Linked DNA regions of Homo sapiens: region 2 is linked to region 1. Evidence: promoter capture Hi-C in 16 types of primary human blood cells and fetal thymus (Javierre and others, 2016). All regions are on one chromosome and are shown on one strand. Each heading gives the region's core, a stretch centred on a gene start or on the middle of the fragment in contact. The rest is flanking DNA. Distances are from core to core; before and after follow the strand shown.

Region 1 (2,821 bases), core at 112-2,611:
ATTACAGGCGTGAGCCACCACACCTGGACTAAAGACATTTGTTTTACTCGAGCTACAGATGTTCTCTAGATCAGTATTTGTTTTTTTTTCTTCTTTTTGAAACAGGGTCTCACTCTGTTGCCTAAGCTGGAATGCAGTGACACAATAATGGCTCACAGCAGCCTCGACCTCCCATGCTCAAGTGATCCTCGCATCTCGGCCTCCAAAGTGGATGGGACCACAGACACCACCATGCCCAGCTAATTTTTTATTTTTAGTAGAGACAGAGGCTTGCCCTATTTTTTCCAGGTTGGCATCAAATTCCTGGGCTCAAGCGATCCTCCAGCCTCAGCCTCCCAAAACGCTGGGATTACAGGTGTGAGCCACCTTGCCCCGCCCTCAGTAAGACTTTCAAATGAGTAACTGGTAGAAAACCCACCTGTCAAAAGTTATCTTCGCATTCATTATCAATTCAATCCCTCCTGCTAGTAAATCAGCCCGCACCGTGTTCCTGGGGATGCCCTCGTTTTGAACCTCTGGGGGAATCTACAGGGCGCTAGAGTGAGATCTAGGTGATGGCCTGGAACCACAGTTGAGTAGTCCTGTGTTTTTCCTTGGTGGTAAATTTTACAGTTATGTGCATTCATCCACTCATGCATTCGATGGTATCAGATCCATGTGCTCTCGAACAACCACCTGAAAAGGTTTCTTTCCACCTCGACACAACTTAAACTTCAAGACCCGACACCCACAGCCAGAACAAGTGCATGAAGTGCTCACCGGGACACGACAGAATTGTCAGGTTGCTGAGGCCAGGAGGACACCAAGCGAAGGTCACCGTGAACAGGAAGGCAGAGATGCTGTTCCTTATAGAGAAAAGGCACAACGCTGGATGTGGAGACTTTTTTTTTTTTTTCCATTAGAGATGGTTGGGGGGGGGGGTCTCCCTATGTTGCCCTGCCTGGTCTTGAACTCCTGGCCTCAAGTAATCCTCCTACCCAATCCGCCCAAAGCGCTGGGAATGACAGGCGTGAGCCGCCGCGCCGGGCCCTATGAGGCTTCTGCAGAGGGGAGCAGGGAAAATGGAAAGGCCGTGCCCCCCGCCTCCTCCCGGGCCGAGGCCCCAGCGCAGCCGCCTCGACCCCTGAGGACAGACCTGACTGTGGCTCTCAGAGGAGGGGCCGCGACTTGGGAGAGCCCACAAGATGCTCGAAATGCCCGAAAGTGCACGGGACAGGCTCCATTTCACTGGGCACCTCCCCTTTCCACCCTTCTACTCTCGCGTGGCTGCACCGGGACACCACCGAACGCCGCCCAGAAACAAAAACTTACCTCAGACGCCAACGGGAACGCGCTGTTAAGATGGCGGCCGTTATGCGCATGCGCCCACGCAGACACGCCGCGCACGCGCAAAGGCTAGGACCACCTAGGGGGCGGGGCCTCGGGTTCCCGGGCCCATCAGCTGCTGCGGCTTTTTCCAACCCAGAGCTGAGAGGAAATGCTGTTTACCTCCCCGAAGAGCGCAAGTGTCACCGGTAGGGGGTCTTGACTGCAAGCTGTCCAGGTTACTGGCGTTTTGAACAAAGAATTAGACAAAACGCCCAGCAAAGCAAAGAAAGAATGAAGCAACAAAAGAACAAGAGCTGGGATTTGTTGAAAACGAAAGCATACTCCACAGTGTGGGAACTGGCCAAGCGGCAGCTCAAGGGCTCCGAAACAGAACCTTCATGAGTCCCAATACCTCCTAGAATTTTCCCATTGGCCACTTCATGCTCACCTCCTGTAAATGAAGCGGTAGCCCGCGTTCAGTCTGATTGGTTGCAGAAAGCAGCCAACCAGAGTCTGAAGTTACAAAGGTCACACTCCTGTGCAAACATCTGATTGGTTGCAAAAAGCAACCAATCAAAGGCTAGGGTGAAGTTACGACGTTACAAAGTTACACTTCTATGCAAATGAAGACTCAACCGGCCATCAGTCTGATTTGTTGCAGACAGCCAATTTCCTATCTGCCAGCAGAAAAGGTCAAAGGGAGTAGCCTCTGGTCCTTTTGTTATTTAGGCGAGGAAAGTGAGGGTTTTCCTTTCAATTTAGTTCTAGGAAGTCGGCCTGAAACAGCCTTAAGTTCCCTGCCTCCCGACTCTATTCAGCCTCACAAGGGCTTGATTTTTGGTCATCTCACACTCAGAGACTAGAATGCTCCTATTGGAATTTGTTCAAAAATTAGCACATAGAGGCTGGGCCTGATGGCTCACGCCAGTGATCCCAGCACTTTGGGAGGCTGAGGCAGGCAGACCACTTGAGCTCAGGAGTTCGAGACCAGCCTGGGCAATATGGCAAAACCCTATTCCTATAAAAAAGACAAAAAACACAAAAATTAGGACGTAGTTAAGAGCATAGATAAGATTCATGCGGACTTCCTAAAAGTGAAAACACCAAGATCTGGGGTCGGGGAATCTAAGGCCAATTCGTGATAATTTCCTAAAGTTAAATCAAAGGAAAAACACCTGGGGCTGGGGGCAGGGCACCTAAGGCCAATTAACACAAACTTCCTGAAGCTAAACCAAAAGGAAAAACCCCATCTCCCCAAGATCAAAGACTACTCTCTCTACAGTAAAAAGTAAAGTAGAGGTTCCTCTTCAAAGACTTTCCTGCCCATCTAATTAGGAATAAATAGTAACTTCTGTTAGAAGCAAAATTTATTCAAAGACCTGTACTAATGTGTCCGGAATTGGTGGGTTCTTGGTCTCACCGACTCCAAGAATGAAGCCGGGGACCCTCGTGGTGAGTGTTACAGATCTTAAGGTGGCACGTCTGGAGTTTGTTCCTTCTGATGTTCGGATGT
Region 2 (2,821 bases), core at 110-2,609, 88 kb before region 1:
AAGCCCTTTGAGTGCCTGGAATGTGGTAAAGCATTTACGCATTCCTCCAGTCTTAATAATCACATGCGGACCCACAGCGCCAAAAAACCATTCACGTGTATGGAATGTGGCAAAGCTTTTAAGTTTCCCACGTGTGTTAACCTTCACATGCGGATCCACACTGGAGAAAAACCCTACAAATGTAAACAGTGTGGGAAATCCTTCAGTTACTCCAATTCGTTTCAGTTACATGAACGAACTCACACTGGAGAGAAACCCTATGAATGTAAGGAGTGCGGGAAAGCCTTCAGTTCTTCCAGTTCCTTTCGAAATCATGAAAGAAGGCATGCGGATGAGAGACTGTCAGCATAAGGAATGTGGGAAAACCTAAAGGTGTCCCTGTTCTCTCTGAAGACATGAAAACTCACTGGGGAGAAACCCTATGAATGTAAAAATGTGGAAGCAACTTTGTATCTCAGGTCTTAATGAACACATATGAATTCACAGTGGAGAAGACCCTGCATCAGGGAATGTGGAAATGACTTTGCTGAATTCTCAAGCCTTACCAAACACATCAGAAATCTCACTGGAGAGAAACTGTATGAATGTAGAGAATCTGGGAATACCTTTCTGAATCCCACAAACCTTAATGTGTGTATGTGAACTCACATTGGAGAGAAACCCTGCAATTTAAATGGTATGGTCTGGATGATGCCCCACTCCATATTTGTAAGCCCTAAGTCCTAGTTCCTTACACTATAACTGTATTTGGACATAGGGTTTTCAAACAGGTGAGTAACTTCAAATGAGGTTGTTGGGTTCGATCCCTAATCTGACATCACTGGTGTCCCTATAAGGGAAACTGAAGGAAGGATACACATGGAGAAGACTGTGTGGATCCACCAGAAGATGGCCATCTACAAGCCAAGGACAGAGACCTGGAACAGATGCTTTCATTATGGCCTCCAGAGGAAACCAACCCTGTCTCCACCTTGATATTGCACTTCCAGGCTCCAGAACTGTGAGGCAATAAATTTCTCTTGGTTAAATCATTCAGTCTGTTATTTTGTACAGCAACCCTAGGAAACTAATACTGTGAGGAACTTGGGAAAAGCTTTAGATCAAGCTTGTCCAACCCGCAGGCCAGGATGGCTTTGAATGCAGACCAACACAAATTTTTAAGCTTTCTTCAAACATAATAAAATTTTTTTGTGATTATTTTTTCCGTTCATTAGCTATCATTAGTGTTAGTGTAAACACAAAAGCAATCACAGGAGAGACGTTCTATGAATGTAGGACATGTGAAGAAGTCTGTAAGTGCTCATCAGATCTTAATACTCACTTCCAACTCTTGTGGTGATAGGCCCTGTGAAAATCAAAGACCATCAAGAAGAGAAAGTTTCTTTTACTATGAAAGTCATAAATGTGACTTCACCCAACATTTAGTGACTTAGAGTGGACTGAGGCTCCATTATTAGTAATGTGGAGAGATTTCATTAAATGTTTATACCTTACATGAGAAATAAAAATTCACAGTGTAGAGAACACTTCTGCTGTAAGGCACGTGGGAAAGCTTTTACTAATTCCACGAGGCTCATTTTACATATCTAAAATTAGACTGCAAGTGAGCCAAGACCCCTACACTCCATCCTGGGTGACAAAGCAAGACTCTGTCTCAAAAAAAATAAAATAAAATTAGACTGCAAATGTCCTGGGAATGTAGGGGAATGTATGGCAACCTTTAAATATCTCACATGCCATAATGTTAACATGAAATCTCACATTGGAGGAAGAACCTGTGTATCCCAGGGATATGGTGTCACCTTATTTCATTGCTCAAGCCTTAATATCTTTGTGAGAATTCACACTGGGGTAAAACCCTGTGATTATAAAAAGGATGCAGGAAGTACTTCATTTGCTTCTCATATCTTACTGTATCACAGTTCATAGCCATGTGAATGTAAGAAATATGGGAAAGCTGTCAGAATCTCTTCACAACCCAGCAGGAAGTAACTTGCAATGAGACCACACAGTCTGTGAAACATGGAAAGCCCTTTGCTGTTATCTCAGGGATTGCTTAAGTAAGGTTTTGCAGTAGAGAGAAATCCTATTAGTGTAAGAGGTTTTGGAGAGTGGTAGTTCAGCTAAATAATGTTGACTTCTCAGATTGGAAAACTCTGACCAATTGAAAATGTTTTATTACTCTTTTAAAATATCCGTGTTCACCTGGTGCAGTGGCTCAGAGCTGTAATCTCAGCACTTTGAGAGGCTGAGGTGAGTGGATTGCTTGAGCTCAGGAGTTCAAGACCAGCCTGGGTAACCTGGTGAAACCCCGCCTCTACAAAAAAGACAAAACTTAGCTGGGCATGGTGGCTTATGCCTATAGTCCCTGCTACCCAGGAGGCTGAGGCAGGAGAATCATTTTAGCCCAGAAGGAGGTTGCAGTGAGCTGAGATTGTGCCACTGCACTCTAGCCTGGGTGACAGAGTCAGACGCTGTCTCAAAACAAAAAATCCATGTTTCAGAGCAGTTTTAGGTTCACAGCAAAATAGTGTGGAAGGTTCAAAGACATCCTATATTCCTGCGGCCACTACATATGCATAGCTTCCACCATCATCAACATACTCCACCAGAGTAATACATTTGTTAGAATTCATGAACCTGCATTGCCACTTCATTATCACCCAAAGTCCACAGATCATCGGTCCTCCCACTATTCCTCCCTCCCTCTCCCCAGCCCGACAACCACTCATCTTTTTACTGTCTCCATAGTTTCGCCTTTTTCAGAATGTCATAGAGTTGGAATTGTGCAGTACGTAACTTTTCAGATTGGCCCAAAGTG

Evidence for each region. The method cuts DNA at HindIII sites, captures the fragments that hold promoters and counts their contacts. A CHiCAGO score of 5 or more calls a contact.
Region 2: a contact is called between a fragment that was not itself captured here and the fragment with the promoter of ZNF559 in region 1, in 5 of 17 cell types (fetal thymus, naive B cells, total CD8 T cells and 2 more). The highest score is 6.4, in fetal thymus.

The regions. Positions count from the first base shown.
Region 1 is chr19:9,322,719-9,325,539 of GRCh38, reverse strand. ZNF559 (zinc finger protein 559) reads right to left here and starts at 1,361. Exons shown (of 7, transcript NM_032497.3): 1 at 1,312-1,361; 2 at 760-845. ZNF559-ZNF177 (ZNF559-ZNF177 readthrough) reads right to left here and starts at 1,361. Exons shown (of 13, transcript NM_001384659.1): 1 at 1,312-1,361; 2 at 760-845. RefSeq lists a silencer at 958-1,097 and an enhancer at 1,268-1,517. The HindIII fragment of the contact is 3,488 bases long and covers 1-2,821 here.
Region 2 is chr19:9,410,805-9,413,625 of GRCh38, reverse strand. ZNF266 (zinc finger protein 266) reads left to right here. Exons shown (of 11, transcript NM_001370374.1): 11 at 1-1,197. The coding sequence ends at 351. Among named protein-coding and RNA genes, the nearest start is that of ZNF266, 23 kb to the left of the region's middle. The HindIII fragment of the contact is 390 bases long and covers 1,165-1,554 here.